Regions from separate parts of the Homo sapiens genome. Here regions 2, 3 and 4 are each linked to region 1. Evidence: promoter capture Hi-C in human tissues and cell types (Jung and others, 2019). All regions are on one chromosome and are shown on one strand. Each heading gives the region's core, a stretch centred on a gene start or on the middle of the fragment in contact. The rest is flanking DNA. Distances are from core to core; before and after follow the strand shown.

Region 1 (5,407 bases), core at 1,586-4,085:
TAGCTCAAAATTAAGCAGAGAAGCAGGCTTGGGGGAGCAGTGGGGACCTCAGGACGGCAGGAAGGGAGACACCTGCTTACCAGAGTCCTCTGGAGGGAGAGCATGATCGGACCTGCCCGGGGAGGTGTGGGTATGAGAGTGAAGACTCACCTCAGGGCAACGGACAGTCTTAGGCACAATTCAGATCCTATTTGTAGCAAAGTCACTTCATTTCTGATTTCGTTAATCAAATACAGTCTGCTGGATGATAAAAATGGTCCACAGCAATGGAGTGCTTCAGCTAGGTTCTTCGCCTCTCCCTTTTTATTAATTCTATTTAGAGGGGCTTTACCAGCTGCCATTTTTCACCCACAGGCTCCATTTCTGGGCTTAATGCAACAACCAAGGGTAGATTCCTGTACCCCTAGACCTCTGGCAACAGGCAATGTTGACTCTTCATCAACATTGGAAAGCAGGGTGGAGAAAGGACAGCCGAGCCAAGGTACCTACTGCGGCTCCAGGAGGTGAGTTCCTCGGAGCTGGTTTGCGTCGCTTAGCCCTGCATCCAGCACACATCTCTTTGTTCTTCTGTTTCCTGAGGCACCTCCCTCACCTCTTGCCAGAGCCCAGCTGTGGGTCTGGTGCAGAGAATTCAAAGTGGTGCTCAGATCTGCCCCAATCAGGCTCCAGGACAAGCTTCGGGAAAGTCTTTGGGGATGGGGAGAAGCAAGTAACCTCTGCCTCCCATGTCACATCTCCCTCCCAGAGGCCAAAAAGGCAACCCAGAGTTTGGCAAAACTAGGGGTTTGGTTGATTTTTTTACTCCCAAGGTTTGACAACCCAGGCTGTAGGCTGCGGGCCTGGGCTCTCAAGTCTCAGGAGAAGAACCTAGGTTGCCTCGTTTCCAGTGTGCTTGCAGTTCCCTGCAGGTTAGGAGTGTGTCCCAGGACAGACATCTTTCCCGTGGAACGGGCTGGCTTCGAGAATGACTGAGGAGGGTGATCCCCAGGGGCCAGCGCTTGCCTGTTTTTCAAACACACCTTCCCTCCTTCCCCTCCTATCAGGCGACTCTGCAGGGCTCCAAAAGCCGGGGGAGGCACAAATAGAGCTCAGGTCTGGCAGAGCCTGAAAAATCCCCCAAAGAAGGACAGCATGCCCTAGCCACAGTGCCGACCGCAAGGCCCCAATCAGCAGTGCCAAACTTTTCTTGGAGATGTGCTGCCGGTGAGGCTCTTCATAGGGACTCTGCCATCATGGGTATGGGGGTATCAAACACACACTAATGAATAAACCTCTGCTCAGATTCATAGGGCAGGAACTTCCCCCACCCCACAATGAATCAGACCAGTTCCTGCTCCCTCCTCTTACTTCCCCCTGTACTTATCTCAGGGAGTCAGCAAAGGGGGTGGGGGCGTCTGTGTCTGTCTCCCTCTTCTATGTGTCTGTCATTTACCTGGGTAACTTTGGTGCCTGGCACCCTTTAAGTGCTTAATAACAGCGAGTGCTTAAGAAAATGCCTGCTGAATGGACAACCTAACTCATAAACCCCATTGGTGGGAACCTGCATTCCTCAGTAATGTCGGATCAGTGTTTCTCAACTCCTCCCCACCCTACCCCATCACCCGCCCCTAAGGAGCTTTGAAAAGATCTTTTCTTCCTATTCTAGAACCAATTCCAGCTTCCACACCTCCCACCTTGAGAAGGAATGCATTAGATGAACCAAGACTTCTGCCTATATACATGGGCTGCTACAGTTGGCCACCCCGGCAGTCTGCGGCCTCCCAAGCGGGGGCCTGGGTCTTAATCCTTACTTCTCTCTAAGCTGCATGAAGGGTGCCCCCATTCCATCCCTCTTCACTTCTCCCCAGCATAGCGCCTCCATAAATGTTTGTGAACTGGATGAATGACTGTTGAGCGCTTGGTATGATGAGCTGCTTACAATAGGTGCTCAACCAATCTTTGTCCAATCTATGAATGAATGAATGAACTTCACCCTTTTCCTTCCATACCTCCGGGCTGAGCCTCTCTCCCACATGGAAACCCTAAGGCTGAGACCACCACCTTCCTACCAGTTCCTGGGGGTGCCCAGTGAACTGTCTCAGTATCCCCAGTGCCTAGCACACAGTAGGCGCTCAATAAACGCTTGCTGTGTTCATAATGAATGACTCAATCAGGCCCACGGTGGGGGTGAAGGGGGGCTCCATACTGTGCCTAAGGATACAGTGAATGAGCAAGTGACACACACTCCCCCACCCCAATCCCTAACTCTCCTTCCTCCCAGGATCGGGGGAGAAACCTCGGCCCACAGCCGGGATGCGCCCCCGCCGGGGTCACCGCGGCGGCGAACGTCCCGGACTTCGCATCCCGGTGACCCCTTGGGATGAACCGAAGCCGGACCCGCACCTTGGCCGTAACAAGCGCGCTCCACGCCGCCACGCACCAGCGGTGACTCCCGAGTCCTCTGTCGCCCTGGCCTCCCCGCAGGCGGGTTTCGAGGCCCCCGCAGGGAGTTCAGGGCCACGGCCACGTGCAGCCGCCCCCGAGCCCGAGTTTGCAGGCTCGGGGTCCGGTTCGCGCTTCGGTGGCGCCCGGCGAGGCTGCAGCGCGCAAAGTTCCCACCTCAAGTTCCCGTCGCGGCGTCCCCGCCTCGGAGTTGGCCCGGCCGCGGCTTCCGTTCCCCCCGGCTGCCCACGGGTCCGGGGCGAGGACGCGAGAGGGGCCTGGAAGTCGCCCGGGGAGCCCGCTCTGCCTCCCGGAGCCGCCGCCAAACTTCGGTCCCGGGGCCCGGCTCAGCTCCCGCCCTCGGAGCCACGGCCGCCCCGTCTCTGCCTCCCGGTCCCCGCCGGGCTCCGAGTGCGCCGGGAGCGCGGCGCAGCAGCCGCCGAGGGAGGGAGCGAGGCAGGAGGCGGGACGGAGGGAGGGGACTGAGCGCGGGGCGGGGAGAAGGGGCGGGCAGCCGAAAGCGCAGCGCCTGGCCTCGCCTCGCTTCGGGACAGTGGCAGCGGCGCCACCGTCACGGGGCGTCCAGGCGCCCAATCGGGACCCCGCACCTTGGATCCGGGGGCCCTGGCGCGCCTGCTGGATTGCGCTCCTCGCGGCCAGTTCCTGAGCCCGCGTCCGGGACTGCTCGCGCTACGCCCTCCCTCCCGTTGCCTTCTTCCCCGTCTGCTCTCCCAGGAGCGACCACCCTGCGGCCCCTTCGCCTGCACGCGACAGCCTTCAAGGTCCCCGCGCTCCGCTGCCCTGGAGCTTCACGCACCAGGCGGCGCGGCAGCCTCCTAGGGTCGCGCGCCCTGTCAGCTTTCCCCGCGGTGCAAGTGCTCCGGTGGTCCCGGGTCCGCGCCCCTAGCAGCACCGCCCCAGGGTCTACATGTGCTAGATATTAAAACCCCACTCTCCGCTGCCCCGGGGCCGCGCTCCACGCGCTTACACATCCTGGGAACCACATGCGCCATGTCTCCTGCCTTTCCCTGGAAGTCCTGGAAGTCCAAGTGCACTGCTGCCTCTGGGTCCCTCGCCCCCCTACCCCGGGCAAATACTGCATCCTTGAGGCCCTCCACGCGCTGCTGCCCTGGAGCCGAACGCTCCAAGCAAGCTTCCACATCCTGGGGGCCATATATCGCGCGCCTTTTCTCGACCTCCTAGACCAATGTTGCCCTTGGGCCCTTCCTGCCACCGCCACCCAGGGACTGCCAGCATCTTGCTGTGCCAAATTCCTAGGGCCAGTACGTACCGTGCCAGGTGTTTTCCCTTCCAGTCCCGCGGGGCCGAGGCCCCAGAGCCCTCCCGGGCTAGCAGAGCCGCACTTCGTCGTCCACTCCCCTGGCCGGTGCAGGGCACTTGGACCAGGTCCTGGGGTCTTGCTCCCAGTGTGGCCGCCTAGCCTCGGAGTTGGTAGGATGCTGCACAGATGCTGGAGGTTGGGTTGGAGGGATCTATTGGGTTGGAGGAATCTACTGAGTTGGAGGGACCTATTGGTTTGGAGGGATCTGTGCTGCTGGCAGGGCTGGCCTCTTAGGGTGGCTTGCCTTGCACTCCGTTCCTCTTCTCCTTTCTGTCTCTTGCACTCCGTTCCTCTTCTCCTTTCTGTCTCTTGCACTCCGTTCCTCTTTTCCTTTCTGTCTCTACTGCCTTTGCCTATCATCAGAGAACCAAGAAAGGACATGAAGAAACCCTGCTGCCGACCAGCCTGAGGCCTTCTGCTTGAGTGGGGCTCGGGTTGGGGAGTCGTGGGTGCTCATTAAGTGGGTTAGGGTTAACCCTAAGAAATGAGCGCAGGGCACACTAGCCTGCGCGGCAGTCCCAGCCGGGTGGAGCATAGGAGTTCCAGGTTATAGTGCACTATGATGGCACCACTGCAATCCAGCCTGCGTGACTGAGCGAGATCCAGCCTCTAAAACAACAAGAATAAAAACACTGGCTTACTGGTGAGGTGGAGGCCTGGACAGACAAGGATCTGCCTAAGGACCTGTTTCCAAGAGCTCACCTTCTACTGGGGGCTTGGCAGAATTGGGAAACTGCTGAAATACGTGATTGCAGAATGAAGCCAGAGAGGCCACTTTAGATAGAATAATGGGGGAGGGCTCCTGTGGAGGTGATGGTTACATGGAGCCCTGAGCCAGAAGGAGCCCATCTGGCAAGATGGGAAGAGAGCTTTCTAGGTGGACAGAACATCAAAGGCACTGGCCTTCAAGCAGGAGAGAAGGAGGCATGTCTGAGAAACATCAAAGAGACCAACCAGCAGTGTGGGGGAGGGGCCTGAGTGGGGTGGGGTGGGCTTTTGTTGTCAGAGGGTCCCTGGATTACATATTGAGAAACACTCCTCTTGTGGTGGATCAGGCTTCTGCCTTCCTTTCCCATCTGAAATTTTTTTTTTTTTTTTTTTTTTTGAGACATAGTCTCTCTGTGTCTCCCAGGCTGGAGTGCAGTGGTGTGATCTCAGCTCACTGCAACTTCCATCCCCCTGGGTTCAAGCGATTCTCCTGCCTCAGCCTCCTGAGTAGCTGGGACTACAGGTGTGTGCCACCATGCCCAGCTAATTTTTGTATTTTTAGTAGAGACGGAGTCTCACCATGTTAGCCAGGCTAGTTTTGAACTCGCAACCTCAAGTGATCCGCCAGCCTCAGCCTCCCAAAATGCTGGAATTACAGGCGTGAGCCACTGCACCCAGCCAGAAAATTGCTCTCTATCTTGTTTTTGAGACAGGGTCTGACTCTGTCACCCGCTGGAGTGCAGTGGTGCAATCATAGCTCACTGTAACCTCTAACTCCTGGGCTCTAGGGATCCTCCTGCCTCAGACTTCTGAGTAGCTGGGACTACCACACACCACCATGCACCACTAATTTAAAACAAAATATATTTTTTGCAGAGACAGGCGGGTCTGGAACTCCTAGGCTTAAGACATCCACCCACCTTGGCCTCCCAAAGT
Region 2 (5,679 bases), core at 1,033-3,532, 160 kb after region 1:
CTCCTGGACTCAAGCCATCCATCCACCTCGGCCTCCCAAAGTGCTGGGATTACAGGTGTGAGCCACCATGCCCAGGCCATCATGTGGCTTTTAGCCCTTTTAGAAAACGCACAAGAGCAGTCCTTGACTCAGAGGAGCAGATAGGAAGCAGTCTGCAGAGTGGCGGGCCTGGGAATTGAAGGCTACAGTGAACAGCCACGAGGCACAGGGAGTTCAGAGATGGGGACAAATCTTGGGGAGCATCTTACCAGGAAGGTGTTCTTCACGTCTAAGCCCCCGAGCTCTGTAAGTAGCTCCTGTTGGCCTGTGGGGATTTGCAAGGAGAATGGCAATGGATAGAAAAGGCTTTGAGCCAGGGACAGTGGTTCACGCCTGTAATCCCAGCACTTCGGGAGGTGGGTGGATCACCTGAAGTCAGGAGTTCGAGACCAGCCTGACCAACATGGTGAAATTCCGTCTCTACTAAAAGTACAAAAATTAGCCTGGTATGGTGGCACGTGCCTGTAGTCCCAGCTACTCAGGAGGCTGAGGCAGAAGAATTGCTTGAAGCTGGGAGGCGGAGATTACAGTAAGCTGAGATTGCGCCACTCCACTCCAGCCTGGGAAACAGAGTGAGACTCTGTCTCAAAATAAATAAATAAATAAATAAATAAATAAATAAATAAATAAATAAATAGAAAATGCTCTTGTTAGAGAAGTTCCTGCCCCACGTGGACTTCTGCTGATAACAGAGCATGGAGCTGGGTTAATGGTTGTGCTGCTGTCTGAGAGCTGGCAGAGATGCACACATTCACCTTACTTGTGCCAGCTACTTCCCCCATTCCCCTAGGCTTTATCAGTATTTACTGCAGGGGCATTCATTGATTTATTCAGACATTTATGGAGTGCCTGCTATGTGCCAGGATGGAGCTGGCTACATAATTAGTAGGGGCCAGTGTGAAATGAAAATATAAGACTCTTGATCAAAAAGCAAAAAAAGGTATCACTAAAGGTACGAAAACATTGTTTCTTTTTCTTTCATAGTCTCTCTTTTTGTCTCTCATCATAGAGTTTTTTGTTATTTAGTGTCCTTCCAAGTAAAGAAACAATGTTTAGCATGAATTTTACTGTTCATCTTTATATTATACGCCCGTTAAGAACGCAAATATAGAAGGAGTTAACTCATATATGGAATCATTGAAAACACACACTTCCTATTGTGTAGTCTGTACATGGATATATATTTCATTCCTAGCAGAAGAGTTAACACTTGTCCAAAACTAACAACTGCCTTTATTTCACTTCTTGCTGTGCTCACATGTTACCAACTCCCCATCTTCGGCTTGCTGATGATTAAGGAAGGACTGAGAGGAAAAGGAACCCTGGAGTGCCCTGTCTTTCCCTTCCCTTCTATAGGATCATTTTCAGCATAAATGGTTGGCTAATACAGGCGATTAACACAGCTTTGATTGTTCATGTTTCTTAGAATGGCATTGCTTTCTGAGTCTGAAGCAAGCTCTGACTTCAATAGGACGTGTGTCCTGCACTGATGCAAGTTGCAAGACTCACCTTGTGCTCACTTTGAGCCTCACTGGAGTCCCACGTTATTGTAGGTCCATTGTAGGTAGGTACAACCTAAGGAGCAGATACTGGTATTAACCCATTTTACAGATGAGAGTTCTGGGATACAGAGGTGAAGGGACATCTTTGAGGTCCCAAAGCTGGTGAAGGGTGGAGCTATTTTCTAGCTGAGATAACCCAGCCTCAGAGTTCAAACCACCCAGTTATTGTTTGAGAAGCAAAGTTAGAATAATTGGCATATCCCCTGAAAAAAAGTGAAATTTCCCACCTCATACCATATACTTCTACCAACCCCCACAAAAAATTCCAGTCTTAAACATATTAACACACATTAGAACTACCTGTGGTGAGTTTAATCCTTTTGTATTAAAATACAAAAGGACTCAAATTTTTGGAAAGCATTCATATAATTCTGGGCTGGGAAAGGCCATTTAAAAAACCACAAAATCCCAAATAATCCAAGATTGTCAAATTTGTTTACATAAAACTTCAATTTCCCTATGGAAAAAGGCATGAGGATCAAGTCAGAAGAAAAATCGCAGATCTGGGAAATATTTGCACCCTAATTGACAAAGTCTTAATATCCTTCAAGTAGAAAGCACTCTTAGAAATCTGTGAGGGAAAATCAGACACCGCTAGAGAAAAATGGCAAAGGTCACCAAACAGGCAATTCCCAAAAACAGATTATAAATGATCACGAAATGAGGAAAAAAATGTTTTACTTCAAATCATATGTATCTATTTTACCTCCAACTTCTGAAGATAGAGAAGTCACGACTATGGCCACGTTGGTGAGAGTTTTGGTAGAGAGCCTTGGCTTGTTTGGTGGGCATGCTTTCCATTTGTCTGGAATGTTCTTCCCCCAGATACCTGCATCTCTCCAGCCCCAGTTCCTTCACTTCTCAAGGAGGTATCCTGGCTCTTTCATCTGAATGGCCCCCACTCTCCCAGCTACTCCCCATCCCTTACTCTGCTTTTTTTCCATAGCTTCTATCATCATGTGACCTGTAGCTTCTGTATTTGTTCACTGTCCAGTTCCCTTCTCTAGACGACAAGCTCCACCAGGGCAGGGACTTCCTTTTGTTCGCAGCTGTTTTCCCCAGCACCAGGAAGAGAATCTGGCACACAGAAGGTACTCCATTGGTATTTCAATGCACATGAAAAGAATGGGGATCTAGGCTGGGCACAGTGGCTCACGCCTGGAATCCCAGCACTTTAGGAGGCATTTTAGCAGATCACTTGAGATCAGGAGTTTGAGACCAGCTTGGCAAACATGGTGAAACCCCGTATCTACTGAAAATACAAAAATTAGCTGGGCGTGGTGGCATGTGCCTATAATCCCAGTAACTCGGGAGGCTGAGCCAGGAGAATTGCTTGAGCCTGGGAGGCGGAGGTTGCAATGAGCCAAGATCATGCCACTACACTCCAGCCTGGGTGACAGCCAGAATCCATCTCAAAAAAAAAAAAAAAAAAAAAGGGACCTCACAGTGCAGTTTTTTTGGAGGGTGATTGATCAGTATCATCAATTGAAAAATGCACGTTAGAAATTACTTCTAGAAATGTATTTTACAGAAATACAAAAGGCAAAATTTATATGAGTATATGTGATTTATCGCCTCCTGTGGAAATGATCCATACAGAAGACTTGCTTGAATAAACTTGGGGTACAGGCATACAACAGAAATACAAGTTTTACAGAGCTTCCCAATGAAGGATGTATAAAGGAAAAACATGAGGTAGCTGTAGCTATGGCTGTAGATATAGATAGCTATAGTATAGATACGGATATAGTACAGATATATCTGTACTATAGACATGGATATGAATATGGATGTGATGCCTTCAATAAATGGTGAGAGTTTATTCCAGAATAGTGCGTATAGAATGGTTCCACTTTCACAACAGGAGAACTTACACAAATTGGGTACACATAGAAAGAAGTCTGGAAGGACATTTAACAAATGAAACAGGGTTTGCCTCTGAGAGATGGATGGGAAACTTTCACTTCATATTTGCTTGTTTAATTTTTATAATTTTAATTCAATGAGCATGTGTCACTTTTTAATTTTGAAATAATTATAGACTCCCAAGATTGCATTGTTTTTGTAATTATAAAATGCAAATTGGGTTTAGGAGAAATGTCGGGTGGGGAATGGAAAAGGCTGTGACTCTATTCCAGTAGAACAGACTTGACATTTTGAAAAGCAGAGGATGGTTCTAGAAATGATAGCTGGGTCTGCTCAGCATTGGCCTTCACCCTCCACATCCTTCCCCTGCAATTGGCACAGGGGCAGTGGCTGTTTGGAGGGGGGATTTCAAGGTCCTCTTTTGAGGGTATGAGGCTAGGGAGAACAGCAAGGACAACAGGTGTGGCCAGTGCTGGCTTGGGTCAGCACAGAACGGGAGTTGTGCCAGTCCATGTATTTTTACAAACATGCTTTGACTCTCTCACTTGCTTGTGCCATTTACACCCTGAGAATGTAGTATTGCATCCTGAATATAACAACCGCATTCAACAAATGTTGGTCAATGATTGTGTTCGAGGTCAAAATGCAAACCTTGTAAAATAAACTTCAAATTTTATTTGTATGTAAAAGTTTTATGTTGGCATAATCTTACACGACATCTGATGCATGAGGTATCTATGTGCCAAATTATTATAAACAAGATTTGCACGGTAGGGAGCAAAGCTTGAATGTAGGACTGTCCATAGAATACAATCTGAACAGACACAGTTCTGACAGTGGGCCAGATCGAGGGCAAAATTGAGCCATTCATTCAGCAGATATTGACTGCTCTGTCCCGGTTGCTGTTCTAGGGTTTGAAAATATAGCAGAGAATAGAAGACATGAAAATCCGTTGCCTCATAGAGCTTCCGTTCTAAGCTGGGGCAGGGAATGAAAACAAATAACATAAATGGCGGATTTCATAAATTCTGAAATGCAGCCCCATCCCCCATTGTAATATCTTTGAAACTGGGATAATTTTGCAGTCGATGGAACTGCTGCTGTCTCATGCCTGCTCATGGTGGGGGCAGTAGTCAAGTTATGGTTGTCATCGCATGTTCCTGTGAAATCATCATTAAGGTCATTCAGATGGCTGTTGCTTTTGTTGGGCTGAATGCACTGTTAGAATTATTATGTGTGGGAATTTTAATTTCCATTTAAGATATCTTAACGCTATACCCATCTGACTCAGCAATGGTACTATGTATGCAGAAGGGCAGGGGAACAGACAGCAGGGCATTTGTCTGATGTTAGTGAAGCCAATGTTTATCATTGGAGTGCCAATCATAATTCCATTTTTTTCTTGTAAACCAACACCTATGTACTTTGTAAGACATAAGCAAGGAAGGTACTCAAGGAAGATGCAACTGCGTTGCATTTGATTATTGAGATAAATAGTGCAGAACGCTCGCTTACCATTAGCCCATCAGCATGAGTAAAGACAAGGGAAATGATCAAATCCCTTGGAAAGATGAAAAAACTTTTAAAACATTGAGAGGCTGATGGAACTGATTCATTTGGATTCAGGACAATGCTACTATTGTTAAGGCTTCATGTCATTTAAATGGCATTTTTGTTTTCACTGTTAGTGGTACATAAAATAATGGTGTGTCTCACAGCAACAGGCATCTCAAGAGACAATGAAAAATGGTGATGTGACAGAGGTGGTAAGTGCTTTGGGGAAACACAGTGCAGGGATAACGGGGAAGCATTTGGGGGATTGCAATTTTAAAAGCGCGATCAGAGAAGACCTTGTTATCATTCTAATTGGTGATGTTGTTGTTATTACAATATTAAGGCCAAGGTTATGTGCCTTATAGGGAATCTTGCTACTCAAAATGTGGCTTGATTGGTCAAGATAATTTTAGAGACAGCTGACACTAATTTTGAATGCAAACGGAAATTCTCTGAAACATTGATGAATGCTTCTGCTCGCTTTAGGGAAATTGGCAGAAAGGATATCTTTGGTCCACATTTCATTGAATTGATATATTAAGTCTCAGCCCAGCTCACCTAAACACCATCTCACCAAAGTTTTATCTATCACACAGCTTTTACATTTTGTTGGGTTTTATATACTTAAAGTTTGTCAAGGTATTTAATTACCTTATGT
Region 3 (5,666 bases), core at 1,363-3,862, 130 kb after region 1:
GAAAGGTAGAAGAGTTAGGCAGTGGCTGAATCATGAAGGTTCCTCTAAACCATGCCAAGGAGGCTGGGAGGCTGGAGTTTTTTTCTGAGGGCAATAGGGAGCTGTCCAAGGATAATAATGGGTGAAAGGAGTGGATAATAAGGTCAGATGATCCTTGAAGGGATAATGATGGCTTCTGGATGGTCAAGGGTGGAGGAACAGAGAATGGTGAGATGGATGCTCAGAGGAGGCAAAGGAATGGTAGCAGAGAAAAGAATGGGTGAGAAAAAGATGGAGTTTGAGAAAGGTTTAGGAAGAAGAATAGACAGGACCAGGTGCTGGCTTGGCTTGAGAGGTGGTGGGGCTGACTGTCAATACTTGGGCAGTAGCAAGTCATTTCCAACAAGATTTGCTGGAGATGAGCAGGTGACGGAGGTGGCCCAGCCGAGAGAGACCCTCAAGCCTCATCTTGCATTCACCACACAGCAGCTTCGGCTGCTGCACCGTTGCAGTCCTGCTGCTTCTGGCTAATCTACATCCAACCTTCTGTTCAGAACCAAGCCCTAGGGAGGCTGCTGGGGGAAAGCAAAGCCTGGCACTAAAGAAGCATCCTGACAAAATAATTACAGTGTCAGCAAGACAGCCGTGAGTTGCAAATAAAATTTAAATAATCCGAGTGCTGCATCCAACCTGGGGGGCTAATTCAAATACTCTATGCTTCAACTGGGGATCTTTGAATCACCTGCTGACCTGGACTCCCCCCTTCCAGAAGCTGGGAATTGAGGGTTAAGTGGTCTGGGTAATTTGGGACCACCAGGGGACCCATGATCTGATATTGGCAGCAGGTCAGCACAGTCCTGTGAACCTCCTGATGGCAATGTCTGTGATGACCATCTGTTGTTTTGACCAACCTAGCTCACATTCCTTCTTCTGGAAGCAGCACCTTGTTTTTTGTTTTTTTGTTTTTTTTGTTTTGGTGTGTGTGTGGGGAACCTCCCCTTCCTCACTCTTAGTCCACTTGGCTCAGATGGATCTGACACCACTCTCCCGCTCCACTGCACTGCAGATGGTAGGTGGGGGCTTCCTGCAGAAAGAGGGGTCTTCCCATGAAGTTCCTGCGAGGATTGGATTGGTCCCGCCTGGGCTATGTGCCCATCCATGACCCAGTTTCTGTGGCTTCGAGGTGGGGCACTCTGATTGGTGATTGGATGGACAGGGGCCATATGCCACCCTTCCGATGGAGAGGGTGCGTTGAGTCACTCACAGCTGCACGAGGGCAACAGGGCAGCTATCGAATGATATCTTTTTCAGAAATGGGTTCCTCCGAGCAATGACAGGGGAAAGGAGGGCGGATGACCTCTATCCCTGCCCCAGTTCACATCTCCAGCTTCCTTCCCCACAAATTCGTATATTTTTGTCTTCCCAGCCGCTGTCTCCCTTCTTTTGACAACAAAATATGAATCTTCCCATCTCTCTTCTCTTGTGCAGCTTGGAGAGACCGTTGGTCCAGGCTTCCTGCCCTCTTCTGTCAGGAGCTGGGCCTGGGACTGAGGTTTGTGTGGGTCTTTGACTCAAGGATTAAAAATGGCGGGTGCTGCCTGGGGCAGGATGACGCCTAGCCGACTTTCCACCCACGCTACCCAGACCCACGGGGTTGCCCTGGTTCCTGCCCTTTCCCAAACCCGGCTTTTTAGCTTTCCTTTTATCTTTTGGGCCAGCCCATATTCCTTTTATTTTTTTAAAAAAATCTTAACCCTTTGATCTTTCTTTTTGTGAAAAATTATGGTAAAATTCACATTACACTAACCATTGTAAAGCGTACAATTCAGTGGCGTTTAGTATATTCACAATGCTGTGCAACCAGCCCTTCTATCCCGTTCCAAAACATTATCATCGCCCGGAAAGGAAACCCCTTACCCGGGAAACAATCGCTTCCTCTTCCTGTCTCTCCCCAGACCCTGGCAACCAAAACTGCTTTCTGTCTCTGGATGTACCTATTCTGGATATTACATGTAAATGGAGTCATACAATACATGAATTTTTGCGCCTGGCTTCTTTTGGTTAACAAATGGTGTTTGAGGGTCACTTGCATTGTAGCCTGTGTTAATGCCTCATTCCTTTCTAAGGCTGGAGAATATTCCCTTGTATGGATAGACCATATTTTACGTAACCATTCGTCAGCTGATGGCCATTTGGGTTGTTTCCACCTTTTGGCTGTTGTGAATAGTGCTGCTAGGCTCACGTTCTCTCAGTACATTTTTTTTTCTCTTACGTTTTCCAGAATTGGCTTCTGTTCATGGCTATTGAGAAATCCTTACTGATGGAATGCCAAAAAGGCTTTATTTTCAGGGCTCCAGAACACATAGTCCGAGGAAGGTGAAAATGTAAAAAACATCTCCGATGAATTAGACTCAGCAGGGAACGGTCCCAGTTCCGGGAGGACTTTTGTGAATGATCACTGAACGCCGTGGTTGGTGCCTCAGCTCGGGGCCCTCTGAGAGGTGCCATTTGCTGAGAATGCTTTGGAGAAAGGAAGCCAAGAAGGCACTCCTCAAAGGATGGCAGCTGGGATCATTTTAAGTTTTTATCCATCCCCTTTGGAATGGAGAGGAGCTAGGGAAGCGAGCCTTTGGGGACTCAATGATTGCAGCCCTTCCCCCAGCTGGTCCAACAGTAAAGCGACAGATACATGCTGAGAGAGCAGAAGCTTTTAGGTGCTGATTATAACTTGGGTGACAAGTGACAAGATGCAGGCAGGCCTGGGTAAGATAAAAAGATCGCAGCAGCTGACAGCTATTGATGCTTCCTGCACACCCTGCTCTGTGCTGAACCCTCTGCAGGCATCGTCTCATTTACCCCTCACAGCAGCCTACGGGGAAGGCACTAGTGCTAGCCTCACTCTGCAGAGAAGAAGGGGGTGCACAGAGTGGCTTAGGCACTCGTCCCAGATCACAGCAGGAAGTGGCAGAGTGGTGCTCTTAAAACAGTGAAGAGGAGGCTGTAAAAGGCAGCTCAGCATCTGGCTACATGTGTATCTGTGTCCTGTTTCACAGATGCCTTAATTCTCTTCCAGGGAATCATGGAGGTTCCTCTCCAGGGGAGAAGTGGGGCTTACTGAGTGGGAAGTTTGGGGGTTCAGTTCCATGAGGTTCCTGGGAGGTTTGGATTGGTCCTGTCTGGGCCATGTACCTGTCCATGCCCCAGTCTCTGTGGCTGGGAGATGGGGCACTCTGACTGGTAATTGGGTGGACACGGGACATATGCCACCTCTCTGACAGAGAGGGTGGGTTGAGTTACTCACAGTTGCACAAACTCAGAAATGGGTTCCTCTCAGCAATGACAGGGGGAAAGAATGGCAGATGACCTCTGTCCCTGCCTCAGCTCACACCTCCAGCTCCACAAAGAGCAATGGTCCTGGAGTCACTTGCTGGCTGGGTGAATTAGGCAAATGACTTAGTATTTCTGAACCTGTTTTTCTCATCTGCATAAAGGAAACAATAGCAGGCTCTCTCTCATAGGATGATTGTGAGGATTAAATGAGCTAATGTTTGCAGAAGTCCTTTATCAACTGTGATAGCCCCATGGATTTGCTTTATCTTCTACTTGGTACCCCTCCCTGTCTCCCTTATTATTAAGGTGTGTCTGTGGCCCAGTCACCCCAGGGCAGGAGTGGTCTGCTCCTTGCAAAGTGAGCGCTCATCTAATAAGCATGTTGGGTGCCGATGGGTTAAGAGCATCCTTGTGAAACTGAGGATAGCTAATAATGATCATCTGTGATATGTTTCAAGCACTGAGCCACGGGCTTGCCATACAGCCATGTGACCCTCACGCGATTCCTCCCAGGTAGGGTCTGGTATTATGCTCACTTTATTGAATAAGGACACTGAGGCTCAGAGAGGGAGGGAATGTGCAGAAGGACCCTCAGCTAATGAGGTTCAGAGCTGGAACTCGAACCTAGGTCTTTCAGATTCAACCTGTGGCCTTACCAATGGTGCAATAGCCCTTTGTGCAGCTAAAGTTGGCCTTCCCACACAGCAGAGAGTGCTTGGGAGAGCAGCTTTTGGCCAGCATTCGACAGGGGCATTTCTTGACTCACTAGAGCAATCCAAATGTGTAACTTGCTGCCTTTCCTACCCGTGGGCTGCTCCAGTATCTTGCAGAGAGCGTGGGGTGGGAGTGGGGAAAGATGAAGAGACACAGGGCAGTCCTTGGGGATGGCAGCATAAGTGTACAGCACCAGTGCTAATAATCAGCAGCTCAGTGAGTGCTTATTCAACACACATTCATTCATTCGTACATATGTGGGAGTCAGGTATGTTTTGTTTTTAGGGTTTACAGGGACCTATGGGGGAAATGAAGGGATGCTAAGGTACATTCCTTACTGTGGTGGGCATCTGATGTTGTAAATCCCTCTTTCCCGCCTCTTCTGATAACAGCACCAGTGCTCTTTTGGAGGACGTACCCACTCCGGTTCAGGTGGCTGAGGAGGGGCTGAGCACCGCGTCCTCTGACCAAGGTTAGCAGTTCCGGGGTGGGTCAGCCTGTGTGGAAGGCAGCAGAGCTTGGAGATGCAACATCCAGAGGGGATCTCTTAGCCTACTGGATCCAGTTAGATGTGTCCCTAGAGTTTTCACTTATGAGAGGCAGTAAGCCCCTTTAAATAATCAACCCCGTTTGAATAGAGTTTCTACCATATGCACACTTGACCACAAGGAGTTTATGATCTCACCGAAAAAAACAAGAAGGAATAGCCTTCTACTTGATTGTTATACTTGCATGTGCATATAGGTATATACATCTGTTTATGTTTAAGAGATTATTCTATGTTTAAGAGATTATCCTATACTCACGAAGAGCTGGATTTTAGTTCTGGCTTTGACTCTAAGTCATAGTGTGAACATGGGCCAACACCACTTCCTCTCTGAGCCTCAGTCTTCCCATCTGTGAAATGAATGCCCTGGGCTCTCTGCTCCCTAAAGCCAAGTCCCTTCCACTCTTTTTTTTTTTTGAGACACAGTTTCGCTCTTGTTGCCCAGGTTGGAGTGCAGTGGCACGATCTTGGCTCACTGCAACCTCCGCCTCCTGGGTTCAAGCTGTTCTCCTGCCTCAGCCTCCTGAGTAGCTGGGATTACAGGCACGTGCCACCACAGCCAGCTAATTTTTTGTATTTTTAGTAGAGATGGGGTTTCCCCATGTTGGCTAGGCTGGTCTTGAACTCCTGACCTCAGGTGATCCACCCGCCTCGGCCTCCCAAAGTGCTGGGATTACAGGCATGAGCCCCTGCATCCAGCCCCTTTCACTGTTATATACTAGGAATTTAAGATTAGTATCTGTGGGATGGCTGGAGACAAAATAATGAGAAACCAAGAAAACATTGATGTGCCCTCCGCTAGCCTCAGCATTCTGCTTGTTGATGCAGAAATGAGAAGGACCTAGGACCTGACTGGAAGGAGGAGCCGGGATTTGTGTATGGGAGGCCGCAGCAGCCTGGCCATGGGTTCTGCTGCCTCCTGCAGATGCGTAAAACATTGATAAGGATGATGCCTGCAAAGCGCCCTTCACAGATGGCTGTGGGCTGTACCCGGAGCGCGGGGAAGGAGATGAGAAAAGTAAGAGCAGTTGGCTTCAGATCAGCCCCAGATAGTGGCATGGGGATTGAAGCTTTTAACACAGACCTTGAATGCCCG
Region 4 (5,231 bases), core at 407-2,906, 210 kb after region 1:
TGTCAGGCTGATAGAAAGTTTGACTTCGGGCGACTTTCTTGCCTCCTCAATATATGAATAATTCTCAGGTAAGGAATGATTGCAAACTAATTTTATTATTATTATTATTATTTTTACCACAGAGAGCCTACCGCACCTCATTTTGCTTGTTTTCTTATTCTTCCCTTCACAGTGCTGCTGAACTTTTATGTTGTGCTTGAATCATGATTCAGCTCTTAACCATGCTTCTAAAATCCTATTCCCAGCCTAGTACAGGCAGACCCAAACCAACACATTACTTCTAAGTCTAATTTAGCCTGTTGGTGGTGCGGCATTTGTGCTGCTGTCTGAAGCCAGGATGCTTTGCTCTTGTTTGAGGTTGTTTGCATACAGAATTGTTCATGTGTTTGATAGCCCAGAGAATGCACAGAGCTCTAGTGATCCCTGCCAATGCTTTCTGGCAGGACCCATCTCTCTTGGGCTATATGGGGCCCTTGGGGGAGGCAGCAAGGCCAGGCTGAGTGAGGCCTTGCAGGCCCTGGTAAGGAGCTGGACTTTATTTAAGTATGCTGGGAAAGTCACTGGAGGGCTCTGAGCAGAGGAGGGACATGACCTGACCCTGCAATTTGCAGGGTCACTCTGGCTGTACGAAGGTGAGGACAGGAGGACTGGGGAAGAGGAAGGCTCCTGCAAGAGTCCGGGGGAGAAGTTGGGGGCCTGAGCCAGGAGGGCAGTCTGGGGGCTTCCCTTTCATTCCCTTCCCATTGTCTTCTCCTGGAGGTGGAGGAGGACCTGAGCCCATCCTGTTGCAATGTTAGGATCTTCTGGAGGAGCTGGGGGAGCTCGGAGATCCACCTACTAAGGGCTTTCTGGAACATGCATAATAAAGAGGAGGGAGCTGCCTGCTCAGAAGTTGGGGGAGTCTTTTGGAAGAAGGTTCTTTTCTACTATTCTGTGAATTGTGGAGAGCGTTATATTATCTCAATAGGAAAAAGAAAAAAAAGTCTAAGGATTATGCCAGTCCTCTAAAGAGGAGTCTGTTAGGCTAGAGAAGTGGAAGAATGTTCCAGAACTCTTTGAGCTCCCAAGTTTGAGTCCTGCTGCTGCCTGAAGTCACCATGAGAGCCCTTGGGGCCAAGCATTGCTTCATCCTGCTTCCTCTCTCCACCCCCTGCCAGGGTTTTCAGTGCAGACACTGTGGGGCCTGTGGCTGCCTTTTCTACGTTCCTCCAGCCACGATGAGGAAGGTGGCTGCAGCAGACGGGCAGGGGCGAGTTGGGCAGCAGAGGGGAAGATGGCCTGGGAGTCTTTAAAACTGCCCAAAGGTGGGGCATGTCCAAGCATCTCGATGGGGGGAAATAGGCACTTGAAAGCTGGAAACTTTTGTGGTCCGGATTCTGAGAGGGGAAAAAAATCAACAAAACCCAGCCGTCCCCAAACTCCTAACAATGTTCTCTGGTGCAGGAGTGATTCCCAGTAGGCAGGGTCCGAGCCGCCCTCCCTGTGAGCATGGTGTCAGAGCCTCAGGTTGCTTTGGAAATGGATTTGTTTTTTAAACCGAAGCTGAGCTTTATTAGAAGAGAAAACTAGGTCCTGTGTACTGGGGAAGGGAGTTTTACAGGCAGCACCGAGCCGGGCCACCTTCCCTTTGACTTGCTGGGAACGCCAGGGCAGGAAGCAGCAGCTGTCTGGGAGACTGGCAAGAAGTCCGGACTCTGGGGATCCTGACTCCAAACTCCAGCCCCATCGTTCCCGGACCAAACTGAGGGCTGGGCTGCAATTTCTCACCACCCAAAAACGAGATGCAGATGAACTGGGGAGGAAGAGAGTTTTTATTTCTGTAACCGGTTAAAGGGAGAAGGCCTGGAAATGATCCCCAGAACAATTCAAAATGATAAAGTTTGCCAGAGCTTATATACCTTCTAAGCTATATGTCTACGTGTAAGTGTGCGTTCGTCTAAAGACATAAGTGATTAACTTCTTTTAATCTACAATGAAGGCCCGAGTCCCGAAGACCTTCCTCTGGAGCCTCAGTAAATTTACTTAATTTCAATGCGTCCAGGTGCTGGGGTGATTACCCTTATCTTGTCCCCTGCTAGAACATGGAGGTTTGGGGAGTTCCTTCAGAGCCCCAGTCAACTTGTTTGTGAAGGCCTGGGAAGTTTCTTCAGACCCCCATTAAAACTTGTTTAATCCTAAACGGGTCCTGTTAAGAATTCCTTCATTATTTTGCCATGCTTTAAGGCCCAGGAAGAGCCTAGGCAAAACTCTGGGTGGGGCTTTGTTACATTCCAGCCTTTGTATGAGGGCATTGGCTCTCTCAGCTTTTAATATTTCACTTCAGCACTCAGCACTGAAACAGTTGTTACGGAGGCCTGCGTTAGTGAGACCTGGCCTGCCATTCCATGACTGACTTACTGGGCAAGTGAGCTCAGGCAAGTTAGGAAGCCTTGCTGAGAGTAATGATTCTCTCTAGCCAGACAGTTATGAGTGGTAAAGAATCTGCAACGGATTCAGCAACTAAAGCACAGAGAGGGCAAGTCACCTGTCCACAGTCACACAGCAGGAATGCGGCATAGCTGGGAATTGAACCCAGGCAGTCTGACCCCAGAACCCACACACTTAACTGCTATTCTCTAAGGAGGAGCTTGTAAAAGCTTGGCCACCTTAGGTGGCCTGTGTCAGTCATCTGCTGGCTTGCGGATCTGTTTCTAGTCTCCCAATCACTGTGCTGCAATCACTAATGGGCTGTGGGGCCCAGAGGCAGGCATGCCCCTGGATAAACCTCGGTATCTTTATCTCCAAAACCCATCTTCCATAGACATCATTGAGCACCCAGCCAAACAGCGCAGAGGAAGGGACCCCTGGGTGAGACAGTCAGAAACATCAGGACAGGAAGCAGCAGCCGCAGCAGGTCTGTAAATGCCAGTCCTGTGTTCACTTGTCACAAGTCTTGTAACTATGCAGGATTTCCAACAATAATTCCTTCTGGTGGGGATCTCTGAGAAACATCAACCAATCGTACCCCTCTTCTCCACTCAGTTCGAGACCTGTTTTGTCCGATGTAGGAGTCATGTGCCACATGTGGCTATTTAAAAGTACATTTTAACAAATTAAAAGGAAACCAATTTTAAAATGCAGTTCCTCTATCTCAGTAGCCACATTTCAAGTACCCACTGAGCCCATGAGGCTACCAGGTGCCCGAGGCTACCAGCTGCCGTGCTGGGCAGCACAGACACAACGCTTCCTCATCACAGAATGTTTTATTGGGCAGCGCTTGTCTAAACAGATTAAAAATCAAGAATAAGAGTAACAGATGGAAACCAAAATACTGCACCAGCTAATGCATACAGAGTATTTATTTAATATATGGCCAGGCATTACTCTAAGTGTTTTATATGTGTTAATACATTTAGTTCTCATAACAACCCTGACAGGCAGTTACCATTTTTATCTCATTGGATGGATAGAGAAGTTGAGTCACAAAGAGGTTACATGAACTTGCTGAGGCCACGCAGCGGGTACATGGCCAGCCTGAATTTTAACCCTGTGGCTCTGGAAACAGCACGCGAAACCTCCACACTCTACTACCTCTGACTTCTTACAAATAAATGCTCAGTTGGAAGTTGTAGCCCAGATGAGGGTCAATGTGACTTCCTAAAACCATACCCTAGAGTTGGACAGAATTAAACACTTGGTGAAGTTGGTCCTGGTCTGGGGTTGGCCCCCAGCCTCCCTGTCGTGTGCTGGCCCTGGAGTGGCCCCCGTGAGGACGAGGGACGCTGCACACAGGAGTAGGGGACTCGTGGCTTCCTGTGGGCAGGCTGACCCACCGCAGGGTAAAAGCAATGTGTGAGCCAACCACACCCACTTTGGTTTTCTAAAACTTGCAGCCAGATATTCCTCTCCCTGGGGTGGGATGGAAAGCATCGGACAGAGGGCAGGAGTCTCATCCTCTCTGAGTCCCCTTCATCTGGAAGGAAATATCAGAAATGGGGAAGAACGGTTTCTCCCGAAAGCTTTGAAAAGAACAAATGAAAAATATAAAGAAAATGTTTTGTGCCTTTGAAAGTAGACGCCCAATGCATGAATCTTCCTAAACTCTTCAGCTGTCATAGATATGGTTATGAGCAACAGAAACCCAATTAACTTCTCTCAAATGAAAACGAAATTGATTGTAAGGATACAGGGAAATCCTATAGAACCCAGTGCATGGAGGTAGCATTGCCCTCTTGGAAAGTTGTCAGACAGTGTCTGTCTGCAATCTGCGGTCTGAGTAATGGCCTCTTCAGAAAGTCTCCTAGCTCCTCCTCCCCCAAACTTCAGGCTCCATGTGAAAATGACCCTAACTCCCACCTCTAGGTGCTCAGCCCAAAACTCTCTCCCTTGCTCTCATGTTCTGAAGTTCTACCTCCAAAATATTTCTCAAGTTCATTCCATGCTCATCATCTCTCCTCTGCTCTGATAGCTGAAGCCACCATCTCTACCAAGGCAGCCACAGTAGCCTCAGAAGTTTCTCTCCACTTCTATTCTTTTTTCACCATAGTCTCCTCTCCTCAGTGTACCTCAGTTTTGCATTTTAAACTATAAGTCTGATCATGAAATGGCCCTTGTTTAAAACCCTCCAGAATCTTCTCAGAAGCACTTAGAATAAAATCTGAGCTCTTTACCATGACCTGCAAGGCTGTGCCCGACAAGTGGCTACCACCTCCTGCCACCTGCCTCTTGGTCACTGTGCTCCTGCCACACTACCCTTTTTTTTTTTTTTTTTTTGAGACAAAATCTCACCCTGTCACCCAGGCTGGAGTGCAATGGCGTGATCTTGGCTCATTGCAACCTCCGCCTCCCAGGTTCAAGTGATTCTCCTGCCTCAGCCTCCTGAGTAGCTGGGATTACAGGCGCCCGCCACCATGCCCAGCTAATTTTTTGTATTTTTAGTAGAGACGGGGTTTCACCATGTTGGCCAGGCTGGTCTTGAACTCCTGACCTCAGGTGATCTGCCTGCCTTGGCCTCCCAAAGTGTTGGGATTACAGGCATGAGCCACCTCACCCAGCCCCAACTGCTCTTCTATTTGTTGAATGTGCTAAGATTGTTCCCACCTCCAGGCCTTCGCCCTTGTTGTTCCTTCTGCCGAAAACACTCTTCCCTCGTCTCTCCATGTGGCAGGCTTATCCTTCTTTTTTTTTTTTTTTTCAAATATTTACTCAAATACCTTTTCTTCTGAGATGCTGTCTATGATCACCTAAATAAA

Evidence for each region. Contacts are between HindIII fragments. The study calls those that stand out against the background at their distance.
Region 2: a fragment that was not itself captured here is called in contact with the fragment with the promoter of KCNG1 in region 1 in 3 of the 25 tissues and cell types used here (IMR-90 fibroblasts, dorsolateral prefrontal cortex and mesendoderm cells).
Region 3: a fragment that was not itself captured here is called in contact with the fragment with the promoter of KCNG1 in region 1 in 2 of the 25 tissues and cell types used here (H1 embryonic stem cells and spleen).
Region 4: a fragment that was not itself captured here is called in contact with the fragment with the promoter of KCNG1 in region 1 in 3 of the 25 tissues and cell types used here (H1 embryonic stem cells, dorsolateral prefrontal cortex and mesendoderm cells).

Annotation. Positions count from the first base shown.
Region 1 is chr20:51,020,272-51,025,678 of GRCh38, forward strand. KCNG1 (potassium voltage-gated channel modifier subfamily G member 1) reads right to left here and starts at 2,836. Exons shown (of 3, transcript NM_002237.4): 1 at 2,599-2,836. RefSeq lists an enhancer at 477-1,040 and a silencer at 2,765-2,934. The HindIII fragment of the contact is 10,697 bases long and covers 1-4,970 here.
Region 2 is chr20:51,177,647-51,183,325 of GRCh38, forward strand. No RefSeq gene overlaps it. Among named protein-coding and RNA genes, the nearest start is that of KCNG1, 160 kb to the left of the region's middle. The HindIII fragment of the contact is 9,439 bases long and covers 1-5,679 here.
Region 3 is chr20:51,153,934-51,159,599 of GRCh38, forward strand. No RefSeq gene overlaps it. Among named protein-coding and RNA genes, the nearest start is that of KCNG1, 130 kb to the left of the region's middle. The HindIII fragment of the contact is 3,101 bases long and covers 1,063-4,163 here.
Region 4 is chr20:51,236,331-51,241,561 of GRCh38, forward strand. No RefSeq gene overlaps it. Among named protein-coding and RNA genes, the nearest start is that of MIR3194, 210 kb to the right of the region's middle. RefSeq lists an enhancer at 717-1,303. The HindIII fragment of the contact is 3,322 bases long and covers 1-3,317 here.